Regions from separate parts of the Homo sapiens genome. Here regions 2, 3, 4 and 5 are each linked to region 1. The links are contacts of gene promoters, found by promoter capture Hi-C in blood cells and fetal thymus (Javierre and others, 2016). All regions are on one chromosome and are shown on one strand. Each heading gives the region's core, a stretch centred on a gene start or on the middle of the fragment in contact. The rest is flanking DNA. Distances are from core to core; before and after follow the strand shown.

What was found. Contacts are between HindIII fragments. The CHiCAGO score rates a contact against its expected background, and 5 or more counts as called.
Region 2: a contact is called between a fragment that was not itself captured here and the fragment with the promoter of PIP4K2C in region 1, in 3 of 17 cell types (M2 macrophages, neutrophils and erythroblasts). The highest score is 7.9, in M2 macrophages.
Region 3: the fragment with the promoter of STAC3 here is called in contact with the fragment with the promoter of PIP4K2C in region 1 in 2 of 17 cell types (neutrophils and naive CD8 T cells); the score reaches 8.4 in neutrophils.
Region 4: a contact is called between a fragment that was not itself captured here and the fragment with the promoter of PIP4K2C in region 1, in 3 of 17 cell types (M2 macrophages, erythroblasts and naive CD8 T cells). The highest score is 7.9, in M2 macrophages.
Region 5: a contact is called between a fragment that was not itself captured here and the fragment with the promoter of PIP4K2C in region 1, in 3 of 17 cell types (neutrophils, M2 macrophages and megakaryocytes). The highest score is 8.8, in neutrophils.

The regions. Positions count from the first base shown.
Region 1 is chr12:57,589,846-57,592,545 of GRCh38, reverse strand. It overlaps PIP4K2C (phosphatidylinositol-5-phosphate 4-kinase type 2 gamma), which reads right to left and starts at 1,354. Exons shown (of 10, transcript NM_024779.5): 1 at 1,083-1,354. The coding sequence starts at 1,256. RefSeq lists a silencer at 1,257-1,516 and enhancers at 1,115-1,616, 1,697-1,746. The HindIII fragment of the contact is 11,010 bases long and covers 1-2,700 here.
Region 2 is chr12:57,277,819-57,280,518 of GRCh38, reverse strand. R3HDM2 (R3H domain containing 2) reads left to right here. Exons shown (of 24, transcript NM_001394031.1): 14 at 1-161. Among named protein-coding and RNA genes, the nearest start is that of STAC3, 28 kb to the right of the region's middle. RefSeq lists an enhancer at 1-739. The HindIII fragment of the contact is 2,822 bases long and covers 1-2,700 here.
Region 3 is chr12:57,249,832-57,252,531 of GRCh38, reverse strand. It overlaps STAC3 (SH3 and cysteine rich domain 3), which reads left to right and starts at 1,345. Exons shown (of 12, transcript NM_145064.3): 1 at 1,345-1,539. The HindIII fragment of the contact is 3,998 bases long and covers 1-2,434 here.
Region 4 is chr12:57,318,887-57,321,586 of GRCh38, reverse strand. All of the region lies in intron 2 of R3HDM2 (R3H domain containing 2), which reads left to right. Among named protein-coding and RNA genes, the nearest start is that of STAC3, 69 kb to the right of the region's middle. The HindIII fragment of the contact is 1,306 bases long and covers 630-1,935 here.
Region 5 is chr12:57,301,291-57,303,990 of GRCh38, reverse strand. R3HDM2 (R3H domain containing 2) reads left to right here. Exons shown (of 24, transcript NM_001394031.1): 4 at 774-815. Among named protein-coding and RNA genes, the nearest start is that of STAC3, 51 kb to the right of the region's middle. The HindIII fragment of the contact is 4,597 bases long and covers 1-2,700 here.

The DNA.
Region 1 (2,700 bases), core at 105-2,604:
GCTTACCACCCAGAGAGCCACAAATCCAAAAGAGATCCGACTGGCCACAAACAACATTCTTAATTTTTGGTTAAGAAATTCTTTACCACAAATTAAAAATGTGACAAAACGCGTATTCTTCCTCACAACTTCCATCTCCACAGCCTAGCCATGACTATATTCAAGAACGCTGATTTCGAAAATATTCCGTGTCACATTCAAGATAACTGCATTTCTCCCACTCCAGACCTGACGGAAGATGGGCAATGGCTGTGCTTCTTTCAGCTGAGGTATCCTCAGGAAAGGGGATGGAGGTCTCCTTGGCCTCCTCCTGACTCCCAGAGCAGTTTCCTGCTTCAAAAGTTCACCACCATAGTGACCTCAGGAACAGAGCCCCTCAGCCTTCTCTTTGGTCAACAATCGCCACCACCTACACCAAACACGATCGCTCTAGCCAGCGATAAGGATGCAGTTAAGACCAAAGGCATATATACATAAGTCCTGAGAGTGTGCAACTTCTAGCTCAGGGTGGGGTAGCTTCTCTAAAATGCTGTACCTCTGGAAGGGAAAGGAAGGGACAAGCAGGATTAGAAAGCCCAGGAAACCTGGAGCTTCCCCGAGACAAAACCAAGATTCAAAAGCCAAGGACCGGGGCTGGGAAGCAAGGTGGAAAGCAAAGTGAAAGAACCTTTTCATCCATCTACTCCCCTCGGCCCCTCACCCTCCACCTACACTCTCACCAACAACCACCCGAGAAAAAGCCACTCCCCCTAATGTCCTCCCCGCTTGCGCCCGGTCCTGGCCAGTCCGCGTAGCCTGAGGCTGAAGCTAGACATGGCAGGAAGGAGTCAAAGCACAGGGAGCTGGATTTCACGGGGGGAAGGTGGAACTAGAGTGGAGCAGTAAAGAACTGTTGGGGAGAAAAAAGTCCACAGTCAGAAAACCTGCTGGGGGAACACCTGGGGTTGGTGGGCAGGGACCAAGACAACCCGGGGGAGGGGAGTGGCACTGCGTGGGGCTCCGGAGGCTGGAGCCTGGAAACAGGGACGCCTCGGAGCCGAGGGGTTTGGACAGGGCTGCGGGGGTCTAGGGCTGGTTCTCACCGAGTGGGCTACGCCCCACAGGAACACACCCACCAGCGGGTCGGCCGCCCGGAACACCTTCACCTTCTGCTGCACGAAATGCTTCTTCTTGGTCTTGGAGGCGAAGCCGAAACCTGGGCCGGGGCCTGCTGTCGCCGCCGATACCGTGGCTGGTGGGACCGAGGAGGACGCCATAGTCTCCCGCGCAACCGACCAAGTGGAAGCCGGAGCCGGCAGCTATCCAGGCGCCCGACCCCGGAAGCGGCGCTCACCTGCGCTGCTGTCACGTGACCGGAGGCCGGACAGCGGACGCGCGAACAGGGCGAGGCAGGACGGGGCGGGGCGACGCTGGCCCCGCCCCCCGGCGCCTGCCTGCCTGCCCCAATGTCCGCTCAGTGTGTGGGCTCACCTGGCGTGCGGGATCCCTGTAAGCTGACGAAGCAAGCGGCCCGCGAGGCCCCTCGAACTGTCAACTAGGAGACCGTGGTGCGGCCTGGGCTGGCCTGATTGACTCCCAAGGTCTAGGGCTTCTTTGCTGCAAAGTGGCCGCCTTCCGGCTTTGCCCAGTTTCTAATGAGTAACCTCGGACCTGATGCTAATGCGAAAGCATTCTTACCGAATGGGGGTTGGGAAGGGGAGGGTTTTGGAAACCCAAAATTCTTACCAGTGGTCTCAAGCGTCTTGAAATTCATTCATTCATTTAACAAGTATTTATTGTGCACTTAGTTGTACTAGGTCCTGTTCTAGGGGCTGATTTTCCTTTTATTGAAGCAGGGTATAGGACAGTGACTGCCCCGAAGTAGTTGGGAGTCTAATGGCACTGGCTGGCCAATGGAGATCAAGTTTGCAGTATGCAAAGTATGAGCTATCCTAGAACTGTGTATGAAGCAAAGACAATGATACAAAGAAAGGAAGTGTAGCTGGTCAGGGAAGGCTTCAAAGAGGATAGAGACTTTACTGAGTTTGGAAGGGTGGGTGGAGTTCAGGAATAGAGGTTAAAAGGCTGTCTAGACAAAGAGAACAGCATACAAAGACATGGAGACAAGAAAGAACGAAGCCGGGCGCGGTGACTCACGCCTGTAATCCCAGCACTTTGGGAGGCCGAGGCGGGAGGATCACCTGAGGTTGGGAGTTCAAGACCAGCCTGGCCAACATGGTGAAACCTCGTCTCTACAAAAATACAAAAATTAGCCGGGCATTAGCCGGGCGTGGTGGCGTGAGCCTGTAATCCCAGCTACTCAGGAGGCTGAGGCAGGAGAATCACTTGAACCCAGGAGGCGGAGGTAGCAGTGAGCCGAGATCACGCCAAGCAGAGATCACGCCAAGCAGAGATCACGCCACTGCACTCCAGCCTGGGTGACAGAGTGAGACTCCATCTCAAAAAAAAAAAAAAAAAAGCCGGGCATGTTGGCAGGTGCCTGTAGTCCCAGCTACTTGAGAGGCTGAGGCAGGAGAATCGCTTGAACCCAGGAGGCAGAGGTTGCAGTGAGCCCAGATCATGCCATTGCACTCCAGCCTGGGCGACAGAGCAAGACTCTGTCTCAAAAAAAAAAAAAAAAAAAAAAAGCCAGATGCGGTAGCTCACGCCTATAATCCCAGCACTTTGCGGGGCCGAGTCGGGAGGATCACCTGAGGTCAG
Region 2 (2,700 bases), core at 87-2,586, 310 kb after region 1:
GTGCCCCAGAAGTGTGCAACCAGGTCACCTCATCCCAGTCTGTCCGGGGGCTTCTCCCTTGTACTGCCCAGCAGCAACAGCAGCAGCAGCAGCAGCAACTTCCTGCTCTCCCACCCACGCCTCAGCAACAGCCACCCTTGAATAATCACATGATCTCACAGGTGAGTCACCACTCAGTGTCAGAGTCCTCTCCACTCTGATTCAAGCAAACTTTAGATGTACCGTCATGTCTCTTGTGCTGTGGGTGGCAGGAAGGATCAGTTTTTGGAGACATGCCACTCTCTCCCCCATTTCTCATTTGTTAGTTGTAGGGAAAGAAGAACCTTGAGCAAAGGTTTTGCCAAATAACTACTGAGTCAGCTTGGGGGTTTTTTGCTTTATATTTCTTCCTCTGCTTCCTGAACATTGTCAGTAGAATCTTTTATTTCATACCACATTTCTACTGTACCCCATCTCCCTCTATGTCCATGTGTAATTAACAAGGCATTTTTTTCCATTACATCTATATATTGGAACTTGAAAAGATTATAACTTCCACCATCATCTGACCAACTATGTGGACCCATAAACACCTATTTATGTGTTGGGGTTTGCGGAAAAAAGAAATAACACTCAAGACCCCTTCCATACATATGCCACGAAACACAAAGACTCCAAATGTGTCTTTGTTTTCCATGACTCAAAAGGGCTGTATCCTTCTCCTTCTGTTGCTGGACTGGTAAATGTTGGTACCAACTAGAGTTTAAGTGAAGTTTTGCATCTGTGGAGACCAGGAAGGTCATTAGCCTAAGAATCAGTCCTGTTCTAAACCAGAACTTCAGTATTCTGTTTTATTTCTTTCTTTTAATTTTTAAAAAATGTATTGTTATTATTATTATTTTGAGATAGGGTCTTGCTTATGTTGCCTAGGCTGGTCTCAAACTTGTGGGCTCAAGTGATCCTCCCTCCTTGGCCTCCTAAAGTGCTGAGATTACAGGCATGAGCCACCATGCCTGGCCATTGTCATTAAGGTGACTATGTTTAAAAGTCACCTTAAGGCCAGGCATGGTTGCTCAAGCCTGTAATCCCAGCACTTTGGGAGGCTGAGGCGGGTGAATCACCTGAGGTCAGGAGTTCAAGACCAGCCTGCCCAACATGGTGAAACCCGGTCCCTACTAAAAATACAAAAATTAGCCACGTATGGTGGCGGGTGCCTGTAATCCCAGCTACTAGGGAGGCTGAGGCAGGAGAATCGCTTGAACCCATGAGGCGGAGGTTGCGGCGAGCCGAGATCGCGCCACTGCTCTCTAGCCTGGGCGACAGAGTAAGACCCTGTCTCAAAAAAAAAAAAAAAAAAAAAAGTCACCTTAATACTCCGAGCAGAGCTGTGCTGAGATCTTCACTTACTCCCTTCTCACACGAATAGAGCTCTTTTTGAGGAGAGCCCCATACTTTATCCTGAAGTATTCTCTGGTAGCTGGAAAGCCCATGTGTCTGCAGTCTTTTCTGCTGTAGTTTACATTCTCATGTTACCTCCCAGGCTCCCTCATCCCTCTGCTTATTAGTCCAGCTTGGCCTTAGATATATTTCTTCCCTAGGTGTAAGAAGCAAGTCCCAAACACTAATACCCCATGAACTAGAAACTAGAGTGCAAAGACCCCAGAATGGCCCAGTATTGCCCTATCTCAAATATTGTGAAATGAAGCTGAAACAAAGAACAGTGAAGATCTAGGAAATCCTACTTTGTGTCTAAATGTAATTTGCATGCAAGTCATTGCAGTCCTCTATCTTAGTCTAAGTCAGTTCTTTCTATAGTCCTAACTTTCTTGTTCTACCACCATCTACCCCAGTAAGTCTCGTTCACTTCAGTTTACCTTGCTCCCTACTGAAGCATAGTGTCCTTGTATGTGTACTTTTCTCTGTCTGTGTCTTAATTCAAACCTGTAAGTGGGTAAACTATGCTTCTCCTTCTGTCATCTGCTACCGTGTTTTTTATGTGTATGACTTGCTTTTCCAAGGTCCTAATATTTTCTAGGTTTTTTTTTCCCTAAAATGTGTATTTTAATAGTCTTGCTCCCTTTTCTCCCTCTTAGTCTCCCATCTGCCTGCATCTTCCACCTATAATCTCATACCTAGAAACAGACGAGACGGCAAGAGTGGGAGAGGAATAAAGAGATAAAAGAACCATTTGGGACTGAAATTTATACAGAATGTCCAAGTGACTGGCCCTAAACCCCAATCTTCTACTCAGGTTCTGTCCCTGCTACTGGATTGTGAGGGTCAATTGGTCGATCGTTGGCATTGGCTTATCTCCTATGGGGAGTGTGGTGCCAGGTTAGGTGCTATAGCTCGGGGGTAAAGGAACACTACTTGGTGCAGCAATTCCTGTTCTCTTAGAAATTCATTCTTGAGATTAATTGTGATCACTAACTCCAAATGAAAGAATTTATCCAGGTTTTGATGCCCTGGAAGCATTTATGGAAGCTGCTAAAAATTATCCCACCATCTCACTGTATGTATCTCCTTTTTTCTCCCTCTCCACTTTTTCACCCTTCCTCTTTATTTTTTTATTCCTCTTCCTACTGCCATTTTCTTTCTTTCTTTTGCTTTCTTTTTCCCTGATTGGCCTTCAGCACTGGGGGCTCCCTAGACCAAAGTTGCTGAGCCTGAGAATAATTATTGTTCAGTTTCTAATGGTACATAACAGTGCTAGGATTAAAG
Region 3 (2,700 bases), core at 96-2,595, 340 kb after region 1:
TCAAAGCAAGCCCTGTTGTTCTGCAGCCTGTCAGAGCAGGGCCATTAAAGAACCTGCAGAGTCAGAACCATCCTGCACCCCCTTTTCAAACTCCCCCCTTAAATAGAAAAAAGTAGTGGGTGAGAATGACAAAGCACGTTGCCCTGGAAATCTCTTGGGTCCAAGTAGCTGTATCCCTAACGACGATCCTACAGGAGCTTGCCTGACCCAGTCTCCAACACAGTCCTTTATTTCTTACAGATACAAGGAATAGAGCAGCACTGCATTGCCACCTCTAAATTGCTCTCCCCTGAGATGGGAGTATCTCCTCTTTCATCCATGTCACAGCCCAAAGAGTAGAAGGGTGCACCCCTGTGAGATGAGAATGGCATCTGTCTCTTTGATCCATCAGTTATATACTGAGGCATCAAAGGTGGGAGATGGAATCAGGGAATCAAAAGGGTTTAGGAAGTGTGAGGGTTGGCCATCCTACCTTTAAGAGTTTGCAGTTCTCATGAGGAAGGGGACATTACTTAGAAATGATTTAAAAAATTCCTTATGTGGCAGCTATATGCTTCTGTCCAGTGTTAACTGGCCCTTTTTAATAGCCCTGGTAATTCCCTTCAGTCTGAGGACAAAATTTTACAAGAAGGAGGGTGGGGAGATGTCTCTGGGAGCTGCTGGAGGGAATGAAGCAATACTACATATTCTTCACTTTCTTACAGGATAGCAAAGTACTCCTCCAACCACCTACAGATAAAAAGCAATCTAGCCATGCACGGTGGCTCACACCTGTAATCCTAGCACTTTGGGAGGCCAAGGCAGGCGGATCACCTGAGGTCAGGGGTTCGAGACCAGCCTGGCCAACATGGTGAAACCCCATCTGTACTAAAAATACAAAAATTACCTTGGCGTGGTGGTGGGCGCCTGTAATCCCAGCTACTTAGGAGGCTGAGGCAGGAGAATCGCTTGAACCTGGGAGGTTGCAGTGAGCCCGGATCGCTTCATTGCACTCCAGCCTGGGCAACAAGAGCAAGACTCTGTCTCAAAAAAAAAAAAAAAAAAGCCATCTAGTATGGCTGATAGGAGAGCTCTATGAGTTCAAATTAGTCTTTTTTTACCCTGTCTCAAAAAATAAATGAAAAATAAAAATAAACTCCCCTTAAATGTTAAATGAGCATGAACAGAAACTGTCCCTTCCTGAATTCAGCCATTATTCACCTGTTCGCCTTAGATGAAGAATCAAGGAACAGCAGCTCTAGGGGGTTGGGAGGAGTTAGGGTCCGGCCCTGCCCCAGACCTCTCAGTGTCCAATTTCTCTGTGTCAGCTGTGTTTCTCAGCTGTCCACTTTCCTCCAGCCCTGTCATTTCAGCCCTGACACCAAGGCAGGAGGCTAGGAGGTCTACAAATAGCGACTGGGTAGCTGGTGTGAACACAGGGGGTACTGGGGGGGCTTAGCCCCCAAGGAAGAGGACCAGTTTTTCCCCAGCACCACCATCAAGGCCTCGAGGCTCCCAGCTCCCTCTACAGCCTGTGGACTGACTTAGGGAATCCCGAACGTAAGTTACCTCTTCATCCTCTTGATTTCCACGACTGCTCACCCCAGCTGCCCTGATCTATAATCTACTCAGCTTCTTCATTTCTCTCCTTGTCTGTGAGTCTTTTGGGTTTTAGGCGTAAAATTATTATTCTACTCTAGGATGAGTTTGGATTGAAGCGGGGGGTGGGGGTGGGGGTGGGGTGAAGGGAATGAAGTAGTAAGGGAAGGAAAGGCTCATATTACCCTGAAAACTTAAAATAGCTGAGCCCTGAGGCAGGCTGGGACAGAACTAGGCACAGGGCCCCCAGGGCTCAAGAAAAAAGTAGGGGAGGACAAATGTCTCCAGTCCATCCTTCCTTGTGTGCACACGAGGACACACATTAAACCTCTTGAAGAGAGGAGATCTGGGAAGGTATGCATCACATCTCTGTTGCCCACAGATTTCCAGGAGAAACAAAGTACCTATAGGAAAATGACGTAAACCACGCAGCTTTGAACACTGTGTAAGGGCTGTAAACTATGGGGTCGCCCCTCAGGATGGAAGGATGAGTATCAGTTTGAGGAACTAATTGGGAAGCTCTTTAGTCTGTTGGGCTTTTTTTTTTTTTTTTTTTTTTTTTTTGAGACGAAGTCTTGCTCTGTCACCCAGGCTGGAGGGCAGTGGCACAATCCCGGCTCACTGCAACCTCCGCCTCCCGGGTTCAAGCGATTATCCTTCCTCAGCTTCCTGAGTGGATGGGATTACAGGCGTCCGCCACCACACCCGGCTAATTTTTATATATTTAGTAGAGATGGGGTTTCACCATGTTGGCCAGGCTAGTCTTGAACTCCTGATCTCTAGTGATCCGCCTGCCTCAGCCTCCCAAAGTGCTGGGATTACAGGCATGCACCACCACACCCGGCCATGTTAAGCTTTTTTCTAGACCTCCATGAAATCTGTTAATAAAACCTGCCAAAGGATCTGTATTTGGCCCAGTGCAGTGGCTCACGCCTGTCTCAACAATTTGGGAGGTTGAAACAGGAAGATTGCTTGAGCTAGTTCGGGACCAGCCTAGGCAACAAAGCAAGACCATGTCTCTACAAAAAATAAAAAAGTAGCCAGGTAGTGTGCACCTTGTGTTCCAGCTACTCAGGAAGCTGAGGTAGGGGGATCGCTTCAGGCTGGGAGGTCGAGGCTGCA
Region 4 (2,700 bases), core at 33-2,532, 270 kb after region 1:
CTCTGCCTCCCGGTTCAGGCAATTTTTCTGCCTCAGCTTCCCGAGTAGCTGGGATTACAGGCATGCCACCACCACACCCGGCTAATTTTTGCATTTTTAGTAGAGACGGGGTTTCACCATGTTGGTCAGGCTGGTCTCGAACTCCTGACGTCAGGTGATCCACCCAACCTGGCCTCCCAAAGTGCTAGGATTACAGGCATGAGCCACTGTGCCCGGCCCTATCCATGTTTTTGTGTGTCTCAGTATGTACAGTAAGGTTGAGCAACCTTTACCCAAAATGCTTGGGACTGTCTGTATTTCAGATTTAAGATTTTTTGGATTTTGGAAATTTTTTTAAATTTTGGAATATTATGGTTGACCATCCATAATCCAAAACCCAAAATTGGAAATGTTCCTATGTACATCCCTTGAGCATCATATTGGTGCTCAAAAAGCTTTGGATTTTGTACTCTTTCAGATTTCAGATTTTCTCATTAGGGATGCTCAGCCTATAGTTCAGTCTTTTTTATTATTAAATAATATTACATTTGTTTATTCTCCTGAGCCCCTAGATTTTAAACATTTTTTAAAATGTATCAATTGAGAGTAACTTATGATTGATAAACAAATTAGTACAGGACCGGAAAGCTTCCAAGGAATTTGCCACAGGGTAGACCAGAATTTTTAGCACCTAGATATCGTTGTCTTGCTTGCATTCTCTCTACTTGGCCATAGATTAAAAGTGAGAAAATGAAATTATTCTTCTGTCTCTGAATATCCCCTATCTAACATATTCCTTTTGGCTCAATGCCTAGAAAGTTGTTTATAAATTGATGGAAGGATATATAATCTCACTCTATTATGGAAGGTACTTACCCTAGCAGTAAAAAAAATTATAGGGAATATGCAGTATTCTCCCTGAAAAAAATAGGTGAATCTTGGCTTCCAATAATCTTCCCCTGTATTATCCTATTTCTTCACTGCCCCACCTGTTCCCCCGACATCTCACAGTCCCCTCTGTGCAGCTTTGAGCTACTGAGTATCCTCAGGAGACATCTTGCCTTTGAAATTGTACTATTTGGCTGGATGAAATGTACACTGTACACAAATAGGTTGTAGGGAAGCACACATCTAGGCCCTCCTGGGAGCCTAATGTCTGCTTTGTTCTAGTCACCATTACATATGAAGTAGTTCCTTTCTTCTCCCATCAAAAACCTCCCAAACCCTTAATTTCTTCTCTATACCAAATAAACTATTAAGAATGGAATTACTTCTCTGCCTTTTAAGCTACTACTGGCTTTATTTTAGCTGTTTAAGGCTTTTTTTTTTTTTTTTTTTTTTTTTTTGAGATAGAGTTGCACTCTTGTTGCCCAAGCTGGAGTGCAGTGGAGCAGTCTTGGCTCACTGCAACCTCCACCTCCCGGGTTCAAGCGATTCTCCTGCTTCAGCCTCCTGAGTAGCTGGGATTAGCAGGCACGCACCACCACCCCCAGCTAATTTTTTGTATTTTTAGTAGAAACGGGGTTTCACCGTGTTGGCCAGGCTCATCTCAAACTCCTGACCTCAGTGATCCGCCCGCCTCCCAAAGTGGTGGGATTGCAGGCGTGAGCCACTACGCCCAGCCTAAGGCTTTTTTTAGTTGGTTGCTTTCTTTTGCTTTTGTTTTGGCCCAGAAAAAATTGTTTCCAGGAATCTTTATGCCCCAAGAGTAACGAGAGCCTTCTGCATTGGCTGAAAGGACTGGAAATGACCTTAATTAAAGGTTATTTTGGAAAGCAAAAGAGAGCCTCAGCCTAAGAAATACAGTTTTATGCTTAGTTTATCTTCCAGTGGATCTTAACTCTGTATTAGTAACAGTCTGACCCCTCATTACTCGCCTCTGCCTACTTTCAGGGCAGTTTCTTTTATCCTAGAAGAAAATGGTAAGGAGACTTAAAGCCATGTGATTTGAAAGCTTGACTTAAAGAAGCTGGGAATGTTTAGAGAAGGAAATAAGGTAAAGTTTTCTTTTACAAAGAGCTGATAGGGAAGCAAGATTAAGCTTGTTCTTTATGACTCGCACAGAAGGCTAAACAGGGGCCGGTGGGAGGAACTACCAAAGAGGTAAATTTTGCCTCTTTAAAAGGAAAGTGTTCCAAAAAGAAATGGTTTCTTTCTGGAGGTGAAGACTTTCCCTTCACTAAGAGGTATACAAGCAGGGACATTTTTCACAGTTACTAATGAGTTAAGAACCTAATTATGGAAGACTACGGTTGTAGAAAAATGGAGCTAAGGCTGGGCGTAGTGGCTCACGCCTGTAATCCTAGCACTTTGGGAGGCTGAGGCGGGCAGATTACTTGAGGTCAGGAGTTCGAGACCAGCCTGGCCAACATGGTGAAACCCCTTCTCTACTAAAAGTACAAAAATTAGCCGGAAATTGCTTGAACCCGAGAGGCGGAGGTTGCCGAGATCATGCCGCTTGCACTCCAGCCTGGGCAATAGAGCGAAACTCCATCTCAAAAAAAAGAAAAAGAAAAATGGAGAATGAGAAAGCTTCTAAATACCCTTACAGTTATGAGATTCCATGATTCCCTTGTGTCTTTGGTAGACTTTCCTTTCTGGTTTTTGACTATTTCTCCCCTTAGTTAGAGGCAGTATTGTATAAAGTTTAAGAAAGCAAGTAACAAAGCCAGATTTTCTGGATTTGAGTCCTGGCTCTGCCATATGCCAGTTGTGTGCCCT
Region 5 (2,700 bases), core at 187-2,686, 290 kb after region 1:
TTGATTAAATAGGCTTCTGTGAACAGGATTGGGGGAAAAAAACACTCTTTCATGCTGTGGTAGTGACATTTGCAGAAGCATCCTAAATAAGACAGGATACCATGGTTTGTCCAAAAGTAACTTTTATCAGTCTGTGAAATAGGCCAACAAAATCAGTGTCTTCCAACTCTTTTTTTTTCTTTTTAATGGTTTTTGTTGTTTGGTTTTTGAAACAGGGTCTGGCTCTTATCACCCAGGCTGGAGTGCAGTAGCGTGATCTCGGCTCACTGCAACCTCCTCTTCCCAGGCTCAAGCCATCCTCCCACCTCAGCCTCCCAGATACCTGAGACTACAGGTGCATGCCACCACACATGGCTAATTTTTTTTTTCTTTTTCTTTTTCTTTGTCTTTTTGGTTTTGTTTTTTTTTTTGTAGAGATGGGATTTCGCCTTGTTGCCCAGGCTGGTCTCAAACTCCTGAGCTCAAGGGATCCGCCTGCCTCGGCCTCCCAAAGTGCTGGGATTACAGGCATGAGCCACCACATCTGACCATCTTCTGATTCTCTAACTTAATGGTGAATGGTGATTTGACTGTATTGGCCTGTAGTCCCTTTCCTGTCACAGTTGTTAGAGTTGTAGGTTGTAGGGAGAAACCCACATCAAGTGGTCCTCATCATAGTTTGGCTGTTGTAATGGTTTTTACAGTTAGTGCTTTTTCTTTATAAACATGTATTGTTTTTAACTTACATGTCGATTTTCTTCCACCTTTAATATTTTCCAATTCCCTTCTAACAGAGGCGGACATCTAACCATGGTCATGCCAGGAAAAGAGCCAAGGTGAGAGCCCTTCCTCTAGCTTCTTTTCTAATGTTATTAGTAATACATTTCACAAGTAGACTTGTCATGAATATCTAGTTTGTTCAAATTATGTAGGCAGAGTTTTCTTGCCTGTACTCTGTACCCCAATTGTGAACCTGCGTAAGTGTGCATACACACATGTACACATACACATACATACCTCTAATGGAAACTGTGTAGGCGTACATAGGTGTATACACATTTGATGCCTGAAAGGCTACCCAGCTGGAGCCTTCCACAGAGCCTGAAAGAACTGGATACTAGTTGTGCTGAAATACCAGTTTCTCTGCTCACTCCTAGCTTCTCTAGGAGAATGGCTGCTTATATGAGTCTTTTTATTCCCCCTTCTTTTTTTTTTTTTTTCCTTGTGAGTTTTCTTTATGATAAATCCTGCCCCACTAAGAAAAATGACTCAACATTTCTGGATATCCTAAAAATACAGGCTTTTTTTTCCCCCTAATGTTTTACTTTTTTTTTTTTTTTTTTTGAGACGGAATTTTTTGCTCTCTTGCCCAGGCTTTAGTGCGATGGTGCAATCCTGGCTCGCTGCAACCTCCGTCTTCTGGATTCAAGCATTTCTCCTGCCTCAGCCTCCCAAGTAGCTGGGATTACAGGCGCCCGCCACCATGCCTGGCTAATTTTTGTAATTTTAGGAGAGATGAGGTTTCACCATGTTGGTCAGGCTGGTCTCGAACTCCTGACCTCAAGTGATCTGCCCACCTCGGTCTCCCAAAGTACTGGCATTACAGGCATGAGCCACCGTGCCCGGCTTCGAACTCTTGACCTTAGGTGATCCACCCGTCTCAGCCCCACAAAGTGCTAGGATTACAGGCATGAGCCACCATGCCTGGCCATTTTTCTTTTCTTTTCTTTTCTTTTTGAGATGGAGTCTTACTCTGTAGCCGGAGTGCAGTGGTGTGATCTCGGCTCACTGCAACCTCTGCCTTCCGTGTTCAAGTGATTCTCATGCCTTAGCCTCCCAAGCAGCTGGGCTTACAGGCACACACCACTAGGCCAGGCTAATTTTTGTGTTTTTAGTAGAGGTGGGATTTTGCCATGTCACGCAGGCTGTTCTCGAACTCCTGGGCTCAAGCGATCCACCTGTCTTGGCCTCCCAAAGTGCCGGGTTTACAGGCATGAGCCACCGCACTCAGCTAACCTAATGCTTTACTTTTTAGGGGGCAGGAAGAGGATTTTGCTTTTAATCATTATATGATAAACTTAGCACATCACAGATTATTTTAAGCAGAGTTATCAGGGAAGACTACATGTGTTAGTGTGTGATAGGTTTTTAATTTAGCTGGGAAGCAGTAAAGTATTAAATTTTTCTTGCATTGGGAAGAATTGCCACCAAAAGTAATAATTAAGGTTGGCCACCCTGTTCCTCCAAAAAAATAATGATAGAATTTGGAGAGTGGCTCAGCCACTATGTGGCTTGAGTTTGAAGAAGGCCAAGAACTATGATAAATTGGCTCTGTGGCTTGCCTTACATGGCCTGATCCATAGTGACGGGCTTGATGTTAAAGTTCAAAACAAAGGTTACTTACTGCTACTTTAGTTCCTCTCAAATTTTTTGGGATAAGTAAGACAGCTATTATCTCCATCTTACAGATGAGGAAACTTAGGCTATAGGGATTGAGTGGCTTAACAAATCAGTAGCAGTAGCTTAACATTCAGTAGCAAGTGACAGAATTAGGCATGATGTTAATTCTTCAGGCTCGCAAGTTCTTTCTGCTATACTGCACTACTTAGAGCATACCTGTCATGTTTTGTACTTTGGTATTTACTGTAATCCTTGGTTTTATTGTATTGAGTCTCAGTAAATGTTTATAGGTAGATTTCTAATGAGTCACCCTATAGTTTT